Regions from separate parts of the Homo sapiens genome. Here regions 2, 3, 4, 5, 6 and 7 are each linked to region 1. Evidence: promoter capture Hi-C in 16 types of primary human blood cells and fetal thymus (Javierre and others, 2016). All regions are on one chromosome and are shown on one strand. The core of a region is centred on a gene start or on the middle of the fragment in contact, and the rest is flanking DNA. Distances in the headings are between cores, read along the strand shown. Region 1 holds the start of ALG3 (ALG3 alpha-1,3- mannosyltransferase). Region 2 overlaps PARL (presenilin associated rhomboid like). Region 3 has its middle 14 kb from the start of MIR4448. Region 4 overlaps ABCC5 (ATP binding cassette subfamily C member 5). Region 5 overlaps ABCC5 (ATP binding cassette subfamily C member 5). Region 6 overlaps ABCC5 (ATP binding cassette subfamily C member 5). Region 7 overlaps ABCC5 (ATP binding cassette subfamily C member 5).

What was found. Contacts are between HindIII fragments. The CHiCAGO score rates a contact against its expected background, and 5 or more counts as called.
Region 2: a contact is called between a fragment that was not itself captured here and the fragment with the promoter of ALG3 in region 1, in 2 of 17 cell types (M0 macrophages and megakaryocytes). The highest score is 5.7, in M0 macrophages.
Region 3: a contact is called between a fragment that was not itself captured here and the fragment with the promoter of ALG3 in region 1, in 17 of 17 cell types (endothelial precursors, M1 macrophages, M2 macrophages and 14 more). The highest score is 33.2, in endothelial precursors.
Region 4: a fragment that was not itself captured here is called in contact with the fragment with the promoter of ALG3 in region 1 in 6 of 17 cell types (M1 macrophages, M2 macrophages, M0 macrophages and 3 more); the score reaches 14.9 in M1 macrophages.
Region 5: a contact is called between a fragment that was not itself captured here and the fragment with the promoter of ALG3 in region 1, in 1 of 17 cell types (M1 macrophages). The highest score is 5.6, in M1 macrophages.
Region 6: a contact is called between a fragment that was not itself captured here and the fragment with the promoter of ALG3 in region 1, in 2 of 17 cell types (M1 macrophages and M2 macrophages). The highest score is 6.4, in M1 macrophages.
Region 7: a fragment that was not itself captured here is called in contact with the fragment with the promoter of ALG3 in region 1 in 5 of 17 cell types (M1 macrophages, M2 macrophages, endothelial precursors and 2 more); the score reaches 8.3 in M1 macrophages.

What each region holds. Positions count from the first base shown.
Region 1 is chr3:184,247,434-184,250,431 of GRCh38, forward strand. ALG3 (ALG3 alpha-1,3- mannosyltransferase) reads right to left here and starts at 1,529. Exons shown (of 9, transcript NM_005787.6): 1 at 1,312-1,529. The coding sequence starts at 1,507. It overlaps EEF1AKMT4-ECE2 (EEF1AKMT4-ECE2 readthrough), which reads left to right and starts at 2,239. Exons shown (of 19, transcript NM_014693.4): 1 at 2,239-2,457. The coding sequence starts at 2,262. EEF1AKMT4 (EEF1A lysine methyltransferase 4) reads left to right here and starts at 2,239. Exons shown (of 3, transcript NM_032331.4): 1 at 2,239-2,457. The coding sequence starts at 2,262. RefSeq lists enhancers at 110-853, 854-1,597, 1,796-1,845, 1,926-1,985, 2,016-2,125. The HindIII fragment of the contact is 5,512 bases long and covers 1-2,998 here.
Region 2 is chr3:183,832,754-183,835,751 of GRCh38, forward strand. It overlaps PARL (presenilin associated rhomboid like), which reads right to left. Exons shown (of 10, transcript NM_018622.7): 8 at 971-1,072; 9 at 739-836. Among named protein-coding and RNA genes, the nearest start is that of MAP6D1, 8.7 kb to the left of the region's middle. The HindIII fragment of the contact is 651 bases long and covers 1,204-1,854 here.
Region 3 is chr3:183,898,870-183,901,867 of GRCh38, forward strand. It overlaps the pseudogene CYP2AB1P. Among named protein-coding and RNA genes, the nearest start is that of MIR4448, 14 kb to the left of the region's middle. The HindIII fragment of the contact is 4,315 bases long and covers 1-2,998 here.
Region 4 is chr3:183,921,582-183,924,579 of GRCh38, forward strand. All of the region lies in intron 29 of ABCC5 (ATP binding cassette subfamily C member 5), which reads right to left. Among named protein-coding and RNA genes, the nearest start is that of MIR4448, 36 kb to the left of the region's middle. The HindIII fragment of the contact is 3,947 bases long and covers 1-2,998 here.
Region 5 is chr3:183,944,034-183,947,031 of GRCh38, forward strand. It overlaps ABCC5 (ATP binding cassette subfamily C member 5), which reads right to left. Exons shown (of 30, transcript NM_005688.4): 24 at 1,817-1,906. Among named protein-coding and RNA genes, the nearest start is that of MIR4448, 59 kb to the left of the region's middle. RefSeq lists an enhancer at 872-961. The HindIII fragment of the contact is 3,580 bases long and covers 1-2,998 here.
Region 6 is chr3:183,965,040-183,968,037 of GRCh38, forward strand. ABCC5 (ATP binding cassette subfamily C member 5) reads right to left here. Exons shown (of 30, transcript NM_005688.4): 12 at 2,656-2,727; 13 at 338-462; 14 at 146-218. Among named protein-coding and RNA genes, the nearest start is that of ABCC5-AS1, 40 kb to the right of the region's middle. The HindIII fragment of the contact is 6,780 bases long and covers 1-2,998 here.
Region 7 is chr3:183,990,022-183,993,019 of GRCh38, forward strand. All of the region lies in intron 2 of ABCC5 (ATP binding cassette subfamily C member 5), which reads right to left. Among named protein-coding and RNA genes, the nearest start is that of ABCC5-AS1, 15 kb to the right of the region's middle. RefSeq lists an enhancer at 52-552. The HindIII fragment of the contact is 1,078 bases long and covers 893-1,970 here.

The DNA of each region.
Region 1 (2,998 bases), core at 279-2,778:
ATTACAGGCATATGCCACCACGCCCAGCTAATTTTTGTATTTTTAGTAGAGACAGGATTTCATCATGTTGGCCAGGCTGGTCTCAAATTCCTGACCTCAGGAGATCCACCCGCCTAGGCCTACCAAAGTGCTGGGATTACAGGCGTGTGCCGCTGCGCCCAGCCTAGCTGGAGATTTTTAATAGAGGATCCTCTGTCCACAGCACTCCTTCCCCTCACCTTTTTCTTCTTTCCTTAAATAGCTAATTCCTACCTTCCAAGGGTGGCTCTATGAAGCCTTTGCTGACTCCTCCAACCTGGTTTAAGTGACTTCCTATGCCCTTTATGGTATCCTGTGTTACTACTACCATGATTATGATGCATTATAATTGCCTGCTAACTTACTGTCCAGGCCCGAGTTAGAAATGCATCCTTTTTCTTTTTTTTTTTTTGAGACGGAGTCTTGCTCTGTCGCCCAGGCTGGAGTGCAGTGGCGTGATCTCGGCTCACTGAAAGCTCTGCCTCCCGGGTTCACGCCATTCTCCTGCCTCAGCCTCCCGAGTAGCTGGGACTACAGGCGCCCGCCACCATGCCCGGCTAAATTCTTTTTTTTTTTTTTTTTTCAGTAGAGACGGGGTTTCACCGTGTTAGCCAGGATGGCCTCGATCTCCTGACCTCGTGATCCGCCCGCCTCGGCCTCCCAAAGTGCTGGGATTACAGGCGTGAGCCACCGCGCCCGGCAGAAATGCATCTCTTATTCACCACTGTACCTCTCTCTGGTAACCAGCATAATGCTAGGCATATAATAAGCACTAAATAAATATTTGTTGAATTAAGAGTCTTTAGCAAGAAAGCCAAGTGCCTTAAGCCTAGAGTATAGTTTCAGCCTGGAAAGGAGTAGCCAATAATGCCTAATGGACTCAAGTGGTCACAAGATGCCATCATTGAGAAGGGACGTTCAAAGATCACAGAACTGAACACATGGAAAAAGCTGAGATCCAGGAGGAGACCTGAGGTGTCCAAAGCCACAGAGAAAAGCAGCAGCAGCAGCAGTACAACAATTTTGGCTCAAATCTGACTTCTAAGCTGGTTTGCAGGCTGTAAGTTCAGTGCAGAAGGCCAATCTCTAGGGTATCCACCTCTGCCATGCGGGCAGATTAAGATCCGGTTTTCTGTAGAGCAGGCTTGGCGCTCAGGTAAGGGATATGGATGGGTTCGCAATTGACGAGTGAGTGGATACAGAGTCTGGTTTGGAGTTCCAGGTCTGAGATCCAGTTTGGGTCGCGGGTTCAGGTCTCCCTCCCTCCCCTCCCCTCCCCCTCGGCGCACTCACATGCCACCCTGTGAATGACCCAGAAGGTGATGCCCACCTCCGCCAGGCAGAGGCAGGCGGCCACCAGCAGCGTGTAGCGCGGCTCCCGCAGCAGCAGGCGCCGCTCTTGCCAGGCGCGCTGCAGCCATTGCTTGCAGAGTCCCTCTGCCTGGGCCGCGGAACCGGACCGGCCGCGTTTCCGCAGCCCAGCCGCCATCTTAACGGTGCGCCGCTTGTGTGGGCCCACCACCCCCGGAAACCCGAACCTTCGACACTTAGGTTCCGCTTCCCGTGCCTGGCGTCCCACCAGGCTAAGCGCCGATCCGAGTAGCCAGTCTTCATTTACTCCACTAAAATGTAATTTTTCTGCATTTGTCTCCTCTGATGCACTCCACGCTCCATAGGAGCAGGGACAATGTCTTACTCCTCAGTTTATACCCAGCCCTGGGTACACAGGCGCTAATTTAGAACGAATGTCCAGAAAAGCAACATTCCTGCCTACCTCCCCCACAACCGCTGAAGCCAGCATTCTCCTTCGCCTGCGCTGGGAACATCTGTGTTCATGCTGTCTCTCCAGGAGGGCAAAGCCCCTGTTCGCGCCCCTCCTGCCTGCCCTTCGAGCCTTCCGGATGCTGAGAAAAATGAACCTTTCACTAATTTTCAGATTTCCTGATAAAAGTCATTCATATTGAAAATATGAGAGGACGCAGTGATGAGCCCACGTGAGTCTGACACCTTGAGTGCGGCCCTAGGAAATGACTTGGCAGTACAGCCGGAGGATTCAGGGTCTGGACGATAGTTTTCCCAGCCGGAGGATTCTTCGAAGAGCGCTTAGTAAAGGACGGAAGTTCCACGTGTTTGTGTTGAGCAACTGCAGGTGGTGGGCGGAGACACCAGCGCCCCGCCTTCTGCATCCTGCCTTCCGTATTGGCTGAAGGGCCGGCGGCTCTGGCTGCCCGGCGGTTGAGAGCATGGCCTCTCCAGGGGCAGGTAGGGCGCCTCCGGAGTTACCGGAGCGGAACTGCGGGTACCGCGAAGTCGAGTACTGGGATCAGCGCTACCAAGGCGCAGCCGATTCTGCCCCCTACGATTGGTTCGGGGACTTCTCCTCCTTCCGTGCCCTCCTAGAGCCGGAGCTGCGGCCCGAGGACCGTATCCTTGTGCTAGGTGGGTAATCCCGGCGCGGCCCCGCCAGGTAGAGCTGGCAGGACCGGCGCCGCATGGGCTTGGCCTGGTCCGCTTTCCTCCCGCCTGTCTATCCCTCTTGGAGGACGCCTGCGTTGGGACGCGAGATCCAGCTCCTTCAGAGTCCCGGCTGTATTTAGTCAAGGCTAACAGGAGTAAGAGATTGTTGGTCCCGGGGCCCTCTGGAGAAAGACAGTCCCTCAGAGTTTGAGCGTTGGGGGTACCCAAGACCCTGTCCGGACCCTCGGGAGGCAGGCAGCCTTGGGGACCGGATTGCTCAGAGGACCGAGATCAAGTCCTAGCGCTAATTGACTTGTAAAACTTAGGACAAGTCATGAACCCGTTCTGAGCTTTAGATTCAGTTCTAGAAATGGTACTGCGAGTTCACATCGGAGGCGGCACGCGCAGGCACCTCGAGAATAATGCCCAGCGCTTTTCTTTTTGCCCCTGGGCACTGGGAGCCAGAGTCACCTAGAGAGAGTCCTGTCTGAAACTTGGTCCTATGCCTTAGAGAGTGAGAACA
Region 2 (2,998 bases), core at 279-2,778, 410 kb before region 1:
GCACACGTGGAAGGTCTTGTAACCACAATGCCATTTGCTGTGACCCAAGGAAGCAGTTTAGCAACCAATTCCATATGGTGTGGTGGGGGTGGAAAGGGCTTATAGAGGTGGGTTTACAGCTCTGCTCTGCTATTGAAGAGCTGTTTGGCCTGGGGAAGATGATGTCTGAGCCTCAGTTTCCCATCAGTAAAATGGGAGTAGTAATAGTATAACATAAGGGAACTAGCTTGGTGCCTGCATACAGCGGGTACTCAGTAAGTGGTCCACATTGGTTTGCAGTCACCGGCCTCTACTCCAGTCATACAGAGCAATGGCTCCGCCAACTCAGCATGTCTAAATAGCACTGGCGAGACAGAGGTCAGGGTAGCAGGGTGGGACGCCAGGCAGGGGAGAGGAGGGCAGGAAAGTCTGAAGGGGAAAAAGAAGATGTCAGCATAGACTGGGGGCCAGGCTGCAGTCTTCTAAGAGGGGGCTGGGAATAACAGGCCAACAGTTGGGGCAACTTAAGGTTAAGCGTAGGGTAAAGGCACAGACTGTCTCTACAATGAGCCAGGTATGCTGGGTAAACCCAAAGCAAGCCACGTTGAGGTTTCCTCACCCTCCCAAGCCCACCTGCTTCTGCTTCCGTTGCATAGTTCAATGTCTCTGCCATGGGGATGGGGGGTAGGGGTGAGGCTGGGGTAGGAGGAGCGCATGACCCAAGGAAGCAGTTTAGCAATCAATTACACTCAAACTTACATTCCAAAAAGAGCTCCCCCAAGATGTGCCGCATGATCAAAAAATTTCCATCCCAGGATCATTCCTGCTGTATCCATGGCGATAATGGCTTTCAGGGCCTGAAAGGCAGCAAGAAACAAGCGGCACAACTGTGATTGCTCCAGCACTGACATTTCTAACTTAAGGGCAAGAACCCACTCAACATAAAAACATCACCACTATCCCCAGCACTGCACTTCATAAAAATACTTACATTCCCTGCTGTGAACGTGAACATCGGAAGGAAAATAATGGCAAGCCTCCCTTCTGGGATCTTAGTGCAGACAGCTGCGAGGACTGTCATGATGGCACCAGACTGCAAAGTAACACAGCAGGGAGAATGGGAAACTCAATATGCAACTGCTTAGTGGCTACAAGGTCTAAAGAGCAGCACATTTTCTAGAAAGTTTACATGCTGCACATTTCTAGGTGAGCACAAAGCTTCAAAGCTTTCAGTTACTTATGTCCCCAATAATAGGTGAAGGAACTAAATGTCCTTCACACAGTAATCGCTTGGAAAGACTGAATTTTTACTACGGGGCAGTAAGATGTATGTGCCTCATGAACCGCAAGGACAGTGCTAAGCGTGTCATGCGCATCTTTCACCTATGGCCTAGGAAAGAACTGCTCACACTTCTCTGACAAAGCTCCAACCAGAGGGAGTGGGCATGAATACGCCCAAAGAAACCTGCATGCATGAAGCATGTTTCATCTTAAAAAATTCATGTGAAATCTTTATTCATCTTCATAAAGAAACAAAACATTGCCAGTGTGGTGGCTCACGCCTGTAATTCCAGCACAGTGTGAGGCATGAGGATCCCTTAAGCCCAGGAGGTCAAGGTTACAGTGAGCTATGATTGCACCACTGCACTCCTGCCTGGGCAACAGAGTAAGACCCTGTCTCAAAAATAATAAAGGAATAAACTGATACACAGAACATGGATGAGTCTCAAAGTAATTATACAGAGTAAATGAGGCCAGGACAACAAATACTAGTATATGCTGTATGGTTCCATTTGCAAACTAATTTATCTTTAGTAGAAGTAGGTAAGTTGTCGCCAGGGGTAGAGGAGGGGCAGGAAGGAGTGACCACTAGGAAGCTTTTGGGATGAATATGTCCATGATCTTGAGTGTGGTGATGGTTTCACGGGTGTCTACATGTCAAAGCTTACCAAACTTTAAATATGTGCAGTTTTTTGCATGTTAACTAGTAAACCTGAGTTGCCTGCTTTTTAAAAAGACTACATGGGGCTGGGTGCAGTGGCTCTCGCCTATAATCCCAGCACTTTTGGAGGCCGAGGCAGGTGGATCACCTGAGGTCAGGAGTTTGAGACCAGCCTGACCAACGTGGTAAAACCCCGTCTCTACTAAAAATACAAAAAAAAAAAAAAAAAAAAAAATTAGCTGGGCGTGGTGGCGGATGCTTATAATCCCACCTACTTAGGATGCTAAGGCCCGAGAATTGCTTGAACCCGGGAGGCAGAGGTTGCAGTGAGCCGAGATTGTCCCACTGCACTCCAGCCTGGGTAAAACAGCGAGACTCTGTCTCAAAACAAAACAAAACAAACAAACAAAAAAGACTTTATGGGAGTCCTCTGTACTATTTCCTGCAACTTTCCATAAGTTTTTAATTATTTATGAATGAGATGTTTAAAAAAAAAAAAAAGACACCTAAGAGCAAAATAACTTTTGAAAGAAGCCCCTATCATTAAAAAGAAAGGTTCCTACCTTTTCATATAAAAACGGTTGTTTCTGGAAAATAGCATCTACCTCTCTTAATCAATGTTTTCTTAATGTCTTCTATGTGACGGGTTGCTTCAGAATACAAGATTATCTTACATTTGGGGAATTACTAAAACTTTAAAGAAAATTATTATGAGTCCCAGAGATCTCAGATGTCCCCAGTCCCTCATATAACTGCCAAGTGGCCTCAACAGGGAAACAAGCTCGGGTTGCATTCTTAGAAGTCAGGGTAACTGCAAGATGGAAGGACAGCATGAACACTCCTCAAAAGGAGGACCCAAGAAGACCTGAATTTTGACCAAGCTGGCTTCTGTGCAAGAGACTATAATTGTAGCCGGGCACGGTGGCTCACGCCTGTAATCCCAGCACTCTGAGGGGCCGAGGCAGGTGGATCACCTGAGGTCAGGAGTTCAAGACCAGCCTAGCCAACATAGTGAAACCCCGTCTCTACTAAAAACACAAAAATTAGCCAGACGTGGTGGTGGGCGCCTGTAGTCCC
Region 3 (2,998 bases), core at 368-2,867, 350 kb before region 1:
TTTCTCTATCTATGGAAAAGAAACAGCAACAAAGCGTCCGAAGGATAGGGCTTCTGTGAAGAAAAAAATCTGTGGAGGAAGGAACCTCAAGTCTGGGCAAATTAATAATAAGTTAATAATGGGGCTGGGCATGGCGGCTTATGCCTGTAATCCCAGCACTTTGAGAGGCAGAGGCAGGAGTTCAAGACCAGCCTGGCCAACCTGGTGAAACCCCGTCTTTACTACAAATTAAAAAAAAAATAAAAATAATAAAAATTAGCTGGACGTGGTGGCACGTGCCTGTAATACCAGCTACTTGGGAGGATGAGGTGGGAGAATTGCTTGAGCCCCGGAGGTGGAGGCTGCAGTGAGCTGAGATCACACCACTGTACTCCAGGGCAGTACTCGGGGCAGAGCCAAAGCTCCTTTCCGAGGAAAGTCTCAGGGCTCCCGCCACCACCTCTATGTACAGAGGCATCACCCTGCACCAGGGCACCAAGATGAGTCGCTCTGTTTCATTTTCATTAAAATGGCAACCTCACCACCTACACATGTTGGTATGTTACCTGTTGCGGGAAGTCAGGGACCCCGAACGGAGGGACTGGCTGAAGCCATGGCAGAAGAACCTGGATTGTGAAGATTTCACGGACATTTATTAGTTCCCCAAATTAATACTTTTATAATTTCTTATGCCTGTCTTTACTGCAATCTCTAAACATAAATTGTAAAGATTTCATGGACACTTATCACTTCCCCAGTCAATACCCTTGTGATTTCCTATGCCTGTCTTTACTTTAATCTCTTAATCCTGTCAGCTGAGGAGGATGTATGTTGCCTCAGAACCTTGTGATAATTGCATTAACTGCACAAATTGTAGAGCATGTCTGTTTAAATGATATGAAATCTGGGCACCTTGAAAAAAGAACAGGATAACAGCAATTGTTCAGGGAATACGAGAGATAACCTTAAACTCTGACCACCGATGAGCCGGGTGGAACAGAGCCATATTTCTCTTCTTTCAAAAGCAAATGGGAGAAATATCACTGAATTCTTTTTCTCAGCAAGGAAGATCCCTGGGAAAGAGAATACGCGCCTGGGGGTATAGGCCTATAAACGGCCCCCCTAGGTGTGCCTGTCTCTTATGGTCGAGGCTATAGGGGTGAAATAGACCCCAGTCTCCCATAGCACTCCCAGGCTTATTAGGAAGAGGAAATTCCCGCCTAATAAATTTTTGGTCAGACCAGTTGCTCTCAAAACCCTGTCTCCTGATAAGATGTTATCAATGACCATGGTGCCCGAAACTTCATTAGCAATTTTAATTTTGCCCCAGTCCTGTGGTCCTGTGATCTTGCCCTGCCTCCACTTGCCTTGTGATATTCCATTACCTTGTAAAGTACTTGATGTCTGTGACCCACACCTATTTGCACATTCCCTCCCCTTTTGAAAATCCCTAATAAAAACTTGCTGGTTTTTGCGGCTTGTGGGGCATCACGGAACCCACCGACACGTGATGTCTCCCCCAGACGCCCAGCTTTAAAATTTCTCTCTTTTGTACTCGTCCCTTTATTTCTCAAGCTGGCCGACGCTTAGGAAAAACAGAAAAGAACCTACGTGACTATCGGGACAGATTCCCCGATAGTTACCCCAGTTAGCCTTGACTCCCAGGATACACACCTTTGTGTAATCCCCTCCCCTTGAGGATAGGATGGATTTAGTAACTCACTTCTAACAAATAGAAAATGGGCCAGACGCAGTGGCTCATGCATGGAATCCCAGCACTCTGGAAGGCCAAGGTGGGAGGATCACTTGAGCCCAGGAATTTGAGACCAACCTAGGCAACATGGTGAAACCCCATCTCTACCAAAAATTTAAAAATTAGCCCATTGTGGTGGCACAATGTGGTGCCTGTAGTTCCAGCTACTCAGGCAGCTGAGGTGGGAGGATCACCCAAGCCTGGGAGGTTGAGGCTGCAGTGAGCTATTATTGTGTCCCTTCACTCCAACCCAGGCAACAGAGGGAGACACTGTCTCAAACCAACAACAACAACAACAACAAACCCAACAAATAGAATATGGCAAAAGCGGCCGGGTGCGGTGGCTCACACCCGTAATCCCAGCACCTTGGTAGGCTGAGGCAGGCCAATCACTCGAGGTCAGGAGTTCAAGACCAGCCTGGCCAACATGGTAAACTCCATCTCTACTAAAATATACAAAAATTAGCCAGGCATGGTGGCACATGCCTGTAATCACAGCTACTCGGGAGGCTGAGGCAGGAGAATTGCTTGAGCCCAGGAGGCAGAGGCTGCACTGAGCTGAGATTGCACCACTGCACTCCAGCCTGGGGTGACAGAGCGAGATTCTGTCTCAAAAAAAAAGAATATGGCAAAAGCAATGGGATATCACATCTAAGATTAGGTTACAAAAAGACCATTGCTTCTATTTTGGGTGCCCTCTTGCTTGCTCTCTCTGATGGGGTTCAGCTGCCATGTTTTGAGCTACCCTATGCAGAGGCCCATGTGTCAAGGAACTGAAGGTCTCCAGCCAACAGTTCATGAGCAACCGGGTCCTGAAGACCTCCATGTAAGTGAGCTTGAAGTGGAGCCTCCCCTAGGGGAGTCTTCAGGTGACACTGTAGCCCCAACAACAACTTGATGGTAACCTCATGAGAGACCTTGAGTCAGAGGCATCCAGCTGAGCCACACCCATTTTCCTAACCCTCAGAAACTGTGAAATGATAAATGCTGTTGTTCTAAGCCACTAAGTTTTGGGGTAATTTGTTACACAGTAAGATAGGTAAGTAATTCAACATCTGTCATCTAGGATCTGCAAGGCTCCGTCAACAATACAGAGCACCATTGTACCGAATGACACCGTGGGCACAAAGCCCTCAGCACACAGCAAGCCTGGGCAAAGAGCAGGTGTCCTCATGTTATTGTCCAGCTCACGTCAAAAATCTGCTCGGAAAGCTATCTCAAGCTGGATCACCAGAGAGCTATCATCTTCAACTATGCTCGAGACCA
Region 4 (2,998 bases), core at 158-2,657, 330 kb before region 1:
GGACAGAGAAAATGACTTCCAGCATTTTTGTAGTATGTGGTTTTGCCTAATAAAGTAGTATCATAGCAAAAAAAAAAAAAGAAAACGACTTCCAGACCTCCTTCACATAAATCCAAATTCCTTCAGCCTTGGGAGTGAAGGAACCAACCAACCAGGTCTATAAACTGCAGGAGGCTGGTGGCTCACGCCTGTAATCTCAACACTTTGGGAGGCTGAGGTGGGCAGACTGCCTGAGGTGAGGAGTTCAAGACCAGCCTGGCCAACATGGTGAAACCCTGTCTCTACTAAATATACAAAAATTAGCTGGGCATGGTTGGCGGGTGCCTACAATCCCAGTGACTTGGGAGGCTGAGGCAGGAGAATCGCTTGAACCCAGGAGGTGGAGGTTGCAGTGAACTGAGATTGTACCACTGCATGCCAGGCTGGGCGACACAACGAGACTCTGCCTCAAAATAATAAATAAATAAATAAATAAATAAATAAATAAATAAATAAATAAAAAACAACAGGCTGGGTGCGGTGGTTGATGCCTGTAATCCCAGCACTTTGGGAGGTCGAGGCAGGCGGATCACCTGAGGTCAGGAGTTCGAGACCAGCCTGACCAACATGGTGAAACCCTGTCTCTAGTGAAAATACAAAAATTAGCTGGGTGTGGTGGTGCATGCCTGTAATCCCAGCTACTGGGGAGTCTGAGGCAGGAGAATCGCTGGAACCCGGGAGGCGGAGGTTGTGGTGAGCAGAGATCGTGCTATTGCACTCCCAGCCTGGGCAACAAGAGCGAAACTCCGTCTCAAAAAAATAAATAAATAAATAAACAAAATAAAATAAATAAACTGCAGGGGAGAGAAGTTGCAGCTCAAGTCAAGGGCACACCAGACAAATGCCATTTTGTTATGCAAGCTGATCTAACCTTATAGAGGGAAATGGAAGAGCTCAGAATGTCTAGTTGTCAGGGGAGAAAAAGGAAGTCAGGGAGTGACTTAGTCAGGTGGCCATTCCTATGATGGACTTCTATGTAGCCGTGGAAAATCATGTGGCAGCAGAACCCTGAATGATACGCTGGCAGAACCCACCTCCTGTGGCAGAGGCTGAAATGCATGTACTCAACTTTCTCAGCCGCCCCCGCCACAGGGCAAAGGCATGGAACATAACCTTGTTTAAGGAGATGTAAGAGGAAGTCTCCTTGGTGCTTTAGGAGAGGGTGTCCTGCTCAGTGGACAGGCCACAAGGAGAACATAAGCGTGTCCTTCCTTTGGACACGTGTCCTTCCTTTGGTTGGGTGCTTGAGCAGGCATCCTGTACCAGCAGGGGAAGGTGAGTACTGGCTGAGAGTGATACAGAGCCCCACACTGCTGAGCTGCACAAAAACCAACCCATGTGGGATAACAAAATCCCATCCTCCAAACCCCTTTTAGTCTGGTATTTTGTGTCTGCGGCAGAGAGCATCCCATCTGTTGGAGTCTGTGTGTGCAGATGCAAGAAAAACACAGCTGGGGTAAGTCAGTGTATTACAATGCTCGTCTCTGGGGGTAAATGGCTTATCATCCTGTTTTTGCCTTTATGCTTTTCTGGTGTGTGTGTGGTTTTTTTTTTTTAGGCTTTCCTGAAATTACAAGGAAATTTTAATTAGCAAGAAAAAAATTAAGGGAAGAGAAGGATAGAGTCCCTCATAAAGAGTGAATGGGCTCCCCACTCCAAAACATCAAGCCACCCATCGAAAGAAAGGGGTCTCAATTTGTGTTCTTAAGAAAAAATTTCCAGCTGGGCACAGTAGCTTGTGCCTGTAATCCCAGCACTTTGGGAGGCTGAGGTGGGCGGATTATCTGAGGTCAGAAGTTCGAGACCAGCCTGGCCAACATGGTGAAACCCTGTGTCTACTAAAAATACAAAAATTAGCCAGGCATGGTGGCACATGCCTGTACTCCCAGCTGCTCAGGAGACTGAGGCAGGAGAATCGCTTGAACCCCGGAGGCGAAGGTTGCAGTGAGCCAAGATTGCACCACTGTACTCCAGCCTGGGCGACAGAGCGAGACTCTGGCTCAAAAAAAGAAAAAAAGAATTTCCCAGAAGATGTTCTTGGTCCCATCTATTATACCTTACTAGGCTCTATTTTAACACCTACTTACAAAGTAGTAGCTCAACGTATCTTATGTATGACAGAATCTCAGTCAACACTTAGTTTAAGGCAAACAAAGATAGTCACAAAAAACACTAGTGTGAAAATAATTTCAAGATGAGGAGAAAAATCCTTAGCCCCCAAGTTCTCTCAATTCAGCTTTGAAGCCCAGGCTGAACCTGCGCTATTTAACCTTTTCTCAATATTTCTCCACAATTTAGACAGTGTGCTGGCAGTGCGGTTGCTGGCCTGAGTCCTGTCCCATCTCCTCCGCTTCCTTTTTTTTTAAATCCCACCAATTTTTACTGTTTGCTTTTTTTTTTTTTTTTTTTTTTTGACATGAGGTCTCACTCTGTCACCCAGGCTGGAGTGCAGTGGCGCTATCTCAGCTCACTGCAACCTCCGCTGCCTCCCAGGGTTAAATGATCCTTCCACCTCAAATTCCTTAGTAGCTGGGATTACAGGTGTGTGCCACCACTCCTGGCTAATTTTTTGTATTTTTGGTAGAGACGGCGTTTCGTCATGTTGCCCAGGCTGCTCTTGAACGCCTGAGCTCAGGCAATCTGCCCGCCTCGGCCTCCCAAACTGCTGGGATTACAGGCATGAGCCACCGTGCCCGGCCTACTCCACTTCCTATGGACTTTCCCTGAGACTTTGTCTCCTCATGTGTAAAGCAGAATCCAGGCTATGTCTTTCTCTAGGTTGTTGTGATGACTGATGGTATGTTGAGAGATTATATGTAAAGCACTAAGCACAGTGCCTGACACACAGTAAACATTCAGTAGAAGTAGCTATTATAGTAGCTGTCACTGTGGGAGCTTCTACAATAGAAGACATGTTACCCATTATAAATGGCTTGCTATTTCCTCCAAATTATTAATT
Region 5 (2,998 bases), core at 499-2,998, 300 kb before region 1:
ACAATCAGTGAAGCACATCTCTATTAGAGAATCCAGTTTACGTACACTCAGTTCCCAATTGAAAGAGTAATTTTTCAGGCCGGACACTATGGCTCCTGTCTATAATCCCAGCATTTTGGGAGGTGGAGGCAGAGGCAGATCGCTTGAGCCCAGGAGTTTGAGACCAGCCGGGACAACATGGCGAAACCTATCTCTACAAAAAATACAAAAATGAGCTGGGCCTAGTGGCGCATGCCTGTAGTCCCAGTTACTTGGCGGGGCTGAGGTGGGAGGATCACTTGAGCCTGGGAGATCGAGGCTGGACTGAGCCGTATTCATGCCACTGCACTCAAGCCTGGGTGACAATAAGACCCTCTCTCAAAAAAAATAAAAAAATAAAAAATAAATTAAAAAAGGAAAAAAAGAAAAAAAGCTAACTTTTCAAAACTATGTTTCAAAGTCAAGTGTTGGGAACTCAGAATATACTCTTCACATATAAACAATGACACAGATGCTTGTAAAGTCTCACAGCAGTTCAATAAAATAGATAACTCTTAAGAATTGAGTTCAATTTGAGAATCTAACTACTCATGATGCTGCTTCTTTATAAGCAAATTTGTCCAATCTGTGGCCCTTGAGCCACATGCAGCCCAGGACAGCTTTGAATGTGGCCCAACACAAATTCGTCAACTTTCTTAACATATTATGAGACTTTTTTTTGCCATCTTTTTTTTTAAGCTCATCAGCTATCGTTAGTATTATTTTATGTGTGGCCTGAGACAATTCTTCTTCCAATGTGGCCCTGGGAAGCCAAATGATTGGACACCCCTTGATGTGGTTTGGCTCTGTGTTCCCACCCAAATCTCATCTCGAATTGTATAATAATCCCCATGTGTGAGGGGAGAGGCCTGGTGGCAGATGACTGAATCAGGGGGGTGGACTTCCCCCTTGCTGTTCCCGTGACAGTGAGTTCTCAGGAGATCTGGTTGTTTGAAAGTGTGTGGCACTTCCCCCTTCTCTCTCTCTCCTGCTCTGCCATGGGAAGATGTGCTTGTTTCCCCTTCACCTTTCGCTATGATTGTAAGTTTCCTGAGGCCTCCCAGCCATGCGTCCTGTTAAGCCTTCGGAACTGTGAGTGACTTAAACCTCTTTCTTCATAAATTACCCAATCTCAGGTAGTTCTTTACAGCAGTGTGAAATGGATTAAGACATCCCTGTAGGAAATTGTTTAAGAGTGCCAGTTAGGACAGCAGCAAGATGCCTGCCACCCACGGCAAGACGGAAGGGGTTCCTGGGGAAAGGTGGGAAGAGCTGGATACTCTGGTATCAATTAAATTTACTCGTTTGTAAGTTGGGAGAGCAGTTTAGAATTCGCTATGGAGCTTTTCAAACTATAGAAGCCTGGGTCCCACCCCAATCCACTGCAACAGAATCCAGAGATGAGGCCACGTTTGTCCTGCCAAAAGCTCAGCAGGGGGTCCTGATGGCCATCCCTGATTAAGAACAATTGGACATAGTAAGAATTAAAACAATACATGGTTTTAAACAGTGTAAGGAAAATGCTCCATTAGTCAGTTAAGCTGAACTGACAAGGTTCTGAACATTCTGGAAATTAGCCAATGAAGTTCTCAGCTCGACATAATTTACAAATATACTTAGAAACTCTTACGGTAATCTCTTTCCCATTCCAAGCACGGTTGAGAGATTGCTGGAGATTCTGTGGGATTAGATAGGCAGAGAACACAAGCCTCCTCCTTGTACACCCAGCTGAGGCAGCAAAGGGTAAACCGACTCCAAGAGGAGTCAGATCACGGTAAAAGGCCTACAGCAGTCTGACCTTAATGTAGTGATTGATCCTCTCCACCGAGGTGAATCGAGCTTCTGTCTCAGATGCCAGTCTGACCGTAAACTGGAACAGCCCCGTTAACTGATAATGGAAAACAACAATCAAAGAGATAATTCATTATCAATACACGCCAGGCCAATGCTGGAGAACTTCCTTCATCTAGAGGACTACTAAGAACTGAGCACATGCAGCAGCTGGTCTTAGGGACCTAGTCATTCTCTTGGCTTTTAAGGCATACCTGTTACCCCATCAACTGCAATGCTCAGTGAATGCGGGCAGTATCATGGCACTGCTGGAACCACTTCCTTGTACCCAAAGCCTTTCTATTCATCTTTACATTTCCAATAACACATATCTGCAACTGATTCACTTCTGGACTTCCTACTTGTATCTGAGCCTGTTTGTGGGAGTCACAACAAATGGAGATATCAACCTATGAGCAACTAGTAAGAATGTTTCCAGGAAAGTCAAATCAGATACATAATGCTGGGAAATGAGTGAGTCTGGAGCCCCTGTGCTCCATAGACTGCGGAGTCTAAAAACAGTCTATATAATGCATTGTCTTCCCCAACCAGTTGTCAAGTAAATTGCAAAATGTGGCTGGACATCTCGGGGTATCTGTGAAGACACATATCTCTGGGGTTCCTTTGACTATTTATTTTTATCTTTTCAATAAAGAAAAATGTCAAACACACAAGAGTAGAAAGAGTAGTATAATGAACTCCCAGGTACCAAAACTCTACCATAAAAATGATCAACTTACAGTCAATATTGTTTCATCTGTATTCCCTTCCATTCCTACCCCCACCCCCCATATTATTTGGAAGCAAATCGCAGAGAGCTTATCTCATCCAAATATTTCAGCTTGTACCTCTCTAAAATATAGACTCCTTAAAAACATAATTCCAATACCATTATTTTAGAGGGTAATAATAATCACTCAACATCTTAAAATATCTAGTCAGTGCTCAAGTTCTCAACTATTCTCTGAGCTATTTGAAGACCCTCAATCACCCCTAGGGGCTAGAAGGTTTTATGTATATAACAGTATTGGGAAAATCAGGGCCCTGAGAAGAAAATGCACGTAAGAAGCATATTGAGTCTATAACATTTCTTAGAAGACTAGAAAGAGGCCAGAGATGAAATGGTGGTGAACACAGAAACCCACAATTA
Region 6 (2,998 bases), core at 144-2,643, 280 kb before region 1:
CATGCTTTCCTAACACAAAGGCCTAATGACAGCCTAACTCCCTGTGAGGCTCTTCTCCCAAGCATTTCAGTTGCACTCCCAGGAGCAGCTCTGGCCCAGCTCTGCCACTCTGCTAAATGCCTGGTCAGGGGCGGAAGGCCTGTACCTCCGTCAGGTCGCTGCTGGGAAGAATGGCCAGGTCAGGCCTCAGGCAGCAGCTGTTCAGCACAGAGTTGTATCTGGAGGACACAAAGAGACAGCGTCAGGGACACGGCGGGAGCAGAGCCTGCTGACTAGGGCTGCCTTGCATCTCACGCGGCCAAGATGGAAAGCATGACAGAAGCCAAACATTCCTTGCCTTTCTTCATCATATTCCTTCCCAAACAGGATGTTGTCTCTCAGAGTAGCATTGAGGATCCAGGCCTGCTGGGCCACATAAGCGAAGGTTCCACTGATTGCAATGCTGCCCTCTAGAAGCGTCATCTAGGGAGAGAGACACCATCCAATGGCATCATAACTCAAAACCATCACCCTATGCCAACGGAACCCCCACCTTCCACAATGGAATCTAGCTCTGGTAATTTCCCGGGATGCTTTTTGGACCCAAATCCAGATTCCACCTTTAATTCCAAAGAGAGCTAAGCAGCAAAGAAAATCAAAGTTCTCCTTGCTTATGTGTGATGGGAGCTCAGCATAACCCATAACTTGAAGGCAAACACTTCCCTCTGCAGCCCATTTGCTGTGTGCAAACTGTTTAAATTAGGAGAAGCACAAGCAAGAGGTTCTTGCAGAATTCTCCTGGAGAGGATGCTGTAGGGGTTTCCAGCTAATCCCTGCCTCAACATGGGGGCAGGCCAACTCATCCAAGGCAATTACCTAGGATGCTGGCTAGACCAGTTGCTTCTATGAAATGAGGACCAAGGGAAAAAAAAAGTCCAGGTTAGACATCACCTAGTATTTATAATATATACACAGTGTCCATTTACCAATGATGGACCTTGCCTGCCCACAAGCAGTGATGAACCATGTGCTTTGAAGTTTGTGTTCAGTTGCAATGGTTTGATATGAATTGACTTATCCATTTTACCCCCTTCCATGATTTCTTTTGTTTGGGACTGATAGTAGACATTTGTCTTGGTTTAGGGATGCTACAGCTTTGAAGCAAAGTTTCACTAACCAGCCTGTGCAGTACTTGTTCATATAAGCTGGTCTTCTCAAACACCCTCACACAGCGTGTACACACACAGGTGTACCTACGTACACCACAAACTGGTAGCATTCTGATGTGCACTTCAAAGGGTTCAGAAGTCCCCAGGGGGTCTACTGTGGAAAGCCGGCACTTCTGGCTGCTGCACAAACACCGCACATTGCAGCGCTATCAACAGATGTAAACTACAGTTAAAGCAGGGCTGACCAGCCCAACCCGTTTCCCTGCCAGAGACAGGGTTGCCAGGATTTGTCCAGAAGCAAAGCCTGACTTGGTTTTCAACCTAACCACTGCCTAGTCAACCCTGGAAAAAGGAGCACATTGCTAGATGGCAGAGCAGCACTTACGAATTGACCTTTTCTTTCCTTCTCCCCCTCCCCCCATCTCTGTCTCTCCTCACTGGCCCTCCAAATCTGGTTGGTCATCATAAATCACCTAGGAAGTCTGGTGCTTTTTACAAGACCAATGGCTGGGCCCAGCCACTGGAGAGTGTCATAAAGCAGAAGGTGGAGGTGATGCCTGCCATGATCTGACTCAGACAGCCCCAGGCACCACCACCCTCAAGGAGGACCACAACTCACCAACTGTGACAGCTGATGCCAAACAAGACAAGAAAGCATTCCATAATCTGGGGGCTACAAAAGCACCCCTGCTCCCCCTCTGTTTCATTTCAATTCAGTGGACCTTATCCATCAGGGTGTAGAGATAATCATAAGTTTATGCTCATCTCAACCATCTAAGTCAAGTTAATTTAATTCTAATGTAAAAGCATGTGGGCACCTTGTTTTTTTTTTTTTTCTGGATTGTTTGATTCTAAAACACAGCAATGATAGTGTGTCTCAGTGGGATGACTCCGGCCCCATCCTGTCCCTCACTCTCAGCACTGGCCACCGTGTGCTGGGCCCTGCACGCTGTTCACTCCCTGCCTGGAGATGTGCTTGTTGTGTTCTCAAGGCCTTGCTCCCCACTGGACCATGAACTCCCCAAGGGCATGACTCTTTCAGGGATTAGGCAGAAAACAGAGGGGCTTTGCTTCTAGATCAAACCCTGACAGTCCTGTCTGACAGAGAGGCTGGGAGTGCTGGCCGCCCTGCTTCTTTACAGGTTAACTCTGTTGGCAGCGCTGCAGTGTAGGGTGTCTGCTCATCTCTTATCTCTGACATTTTCAATACACGGGCATACCTGTGGCACTCAATAGATACATGCTGAATGAAAGAAGGCATGAGACCAAATGGTTCCAGCTGGGACAACAGTCAGTCATCCATCAGGCGCCCACCAGGCCTCCTTCCAGGCAGAAGGCTGTGAAGGGGGAGAACTGGGGGGAACTGCGGGGGATTGGGGGCATACAATGCAGGCTGAGGGTTCATTTGTTTCCACCTTTCCTGACTCTCCAGGAAATTTGTTCGTTTTTCCTGAGACTCTTGCAAACCAGAGAAAGCAGCAGAAAAGGACAATAACAAAAATCTTACCTGGCCTAAAATGGCTGAAATGAGAGAGGTTTTTCCACTTCCCACACTGCCACAGATTCCAACCAGTTTACCCTGGACAAGGCACACAGAGAGGAGGGTCATTTAGAGACTACTAACCACTCATCGCTAAGGACTTGAGGAAAAACACATTAACTGTAGTCTACCCATACAGAACTGTCACCCTGATGACTCAGCAGGCCACTTACCTGTTTTCTCACTCATTAGCTGCCTATCTCATGGGTTTCTGTGGAGACACCTGAGATAACAGGAATGGAAGCCCTTTGGGGAAAGTAAATATGCCGCACACATTCCAGTATCCCACCGTCATTCTTAGGCCCAGCCT
Region 7 (2,998 bases), core at 182-2,681, 260 kb before region 1:
TTCGAACTCCTGACCTCATGATCCACCTGCCTTGGCCTCCCAAAGTGCTGGGATTACAGGCATGAGCCACCGCGCCCGGCCCTGTTTTTATTTTATTTTATTTTTGAGATGGAGTCTCGCTCTGTTGCCCAGGCCGGAGTGCAGTGGCATGATCTTGGATCACTGCAATCTCAGCCTCCCCGGTTCAAGCAATTCTCATGTCTCAGCCTCCGAGTAGGGGGGTTACAGGCGTGCACCACCATGCCCAGCTAATTTTTGTATTTTTAGTAGACACGGGGTTTCACCATGTTGGCCAGGATGGTCTTGATCTCTTGACCTCGTGATCCGCCCACCTCAGCCTCCCAAAGTGTTGGGATTATAGGTGTGAGCTGCCGCGCCCAGCTTATGGACCACTCTTTGTGTTCTATGTTCTAAAATTTACATTTTTATTACCAAATGTTTTATCTTCTGTTTCCCAATATGGATTGAGAGTCAATTATTTCACTACTAACTGAAAATCTGATTGCCCATTTCCTATGACAAAAATTTCCATCAGCCCCAATTAAACAGCCCTGCCACACAGAAAGAGCCTGGATGTACACGTGCCTCCCCTGTCACAGCAGCAGCAGGGAGAACAGAACGTGAGTTCTTATCCTGGCTGCACAGCTGAAGAGCTCTACACTTCCCTGCAGCACGCAGCAAAGGATCTCATGAGCTGAAATATAAAGTTACACGTATTTACTAACTAGAAAGTGTATAAATGTTCGTTCATTAGATTAACAAAAGTGCATGCAAAAGTGCATTCTAAGTCTGACTGTGGCAGAAGAGGGTGGGTCAAGAATCTAGACACACTTATCCCCCGTTTACTCTAAAAGTAACTCAAACGTTTATGCTTTCCTGTTGTAGAAGCAGAAGCTTCATTTTCCTCAATTTCCTTATCTTCCTTTTCTGTCTTAGCAGTGAAAGTCACATTATTACAAATATTTCCAGCAATTATTGTGAAACAGTAAAAAACAGATCTCAGCTGGGCATGGTGGCTCGCGCCTGTAATCCTGACACTTTGGAAGGATCGGTTGAGCTCAGGAGTTCAAGACCACCCTGGGCAACACAGCAACACACCATCTCTACAAAAAGTAAAAAAAAAAAATCAGCCAGGCATGGTGATGCGTGCCTGCAGTACCAGCTACTTGGGAGATGGAGGCAGGAGGATGACTTCAGCCCAGGAGTTGGAGGCTGCAATGAGCTATGATCGTACCACTGCACTCCAGCCTGGGTGACAGAGCAAGACTCTGTCTCTAAAAGAAGGAAAAAAAAAACAAAAAACAAACAAACAAACAAAAAAACAAGGAGAATAGATCCCCAAATCAAGAAAAAGTTAAGTGGTTTAGCACCTAACACACCAAGCCTTATACAAAGCAGTTGATTTTTATACATCACCTCCTTTCCCACCAAAGAACAGCGGGAACTTAAACATTAACAGAACTGAACGGGTAGAATTTTGTATACAGGAGTCAGCTGGATGCCTGGGCAGATCAAACACAATAGCTTTAGTTCACAGCACAGTTAAGTATCTTTAGATAACTTCTGGTATTAGGAAAGCACATAGCCCTGCAAAGCACACTCCTTTCCTTTTGTCAAAGGCAAGTCAGACCAGTTTCAAGAGAATAATGGTACAACATGACAGGAGTCAACAACAAGAACGAACTCGCTCTTAAATGAAGTCCTTATGTATAAGGTCAACACTTAATTTAGTGGTTAGGGACTACGGCACTTGATAATGAGCTGAGGACTGCTGAGATTTAAGTACATTACAAAGGTTTTTCTTACCTATGAGCTGCATATAATCACAAGGGGAAGGAAAAAACCTCCTGGATTGAGAGAGAAAGATACACTAAAAATACAAGCACACCTACTTTAAGTGAGTAGAAACTGGGAATCTGTACAGAGTAGGTACAGAATGTTACAGGGACCAGCCTTATTTGGATATCCAAAGCTTCAGAAGATGACAAAAGATCTGAAAAATGTCACTTCAAATACATTGCCAAAATGGACTATACATTGGGCTATAAAGCAAACCTCAACAAATCTCAAGACTGACATCATGTATACATGCACTCTGACCACTTTAGGATTTAATTAGAGTTCAGTAACAAAGATTTTTAAAATATCTGAATGTTCAGAAATTATGCAATATACTTCTAAGTAATGTAAGTGAAAGAAAACATCAAACGGGCATGACAATTTGTACCTATATAATCTCAACTACTCAGGAGGCTGAGGTGGGAGGATTGCTTGAGCTCAGGAGTTTGAGGCTGCAGTGAACTTTGATCTCACCACTACACTCCAGACTGGGCAACAGAACAAGACTCTATCTCTTTAAATTAATAAATAAAAAGAAGGCATTAAATGGAAACCAGAACATATTCTGTGCTAAACAGTATGAAACTGCAATACATCAACATCTCTGGGATGCAGCTAAAACAGAGAATAAGGTGAGATTTTCATCGCTTTCAAAGCATATACGCCTGTAATCCTAGCACTTTGGGAGGCCAAGGTGGGCGGATCACGAGGTCAGGAGATCGAGACCATCCTGGCTAACACGGTGAAACCCCGTCTCTACTAAAAAAAAATACAAAAAATTAGCTGGGCGCCATGGCAGGCACCTATAGTCCCAGCTACTCGGGAGGCTGAAGCAGGAGAACGGTGTGAACCTGGGAGGCGGAGCTTGCAGTGAGCCAAGATAGCGCCACTGCACTCCGGCCTGAGCGAAAGAGCGAGACTCCGTCTCAAAAAAAAAATAAAAAATAAAAAAATAAAAGAAGAAAAAGAGAAAAATCAATGCTTTAAGCTAGGGGTTGACAAACATTTTCTGTAAAAGGCCAGAGGTAAATATTTTCAGTTTTGTGGGCTAAGAGGCAAAATCAAAGATATTAAGTAGGTACTCCTATTACAAGAGAAAACAAATCTCCACAAAATGTTGACACAATTCAGATTATAATAATTGAGTACAATTTTTTGT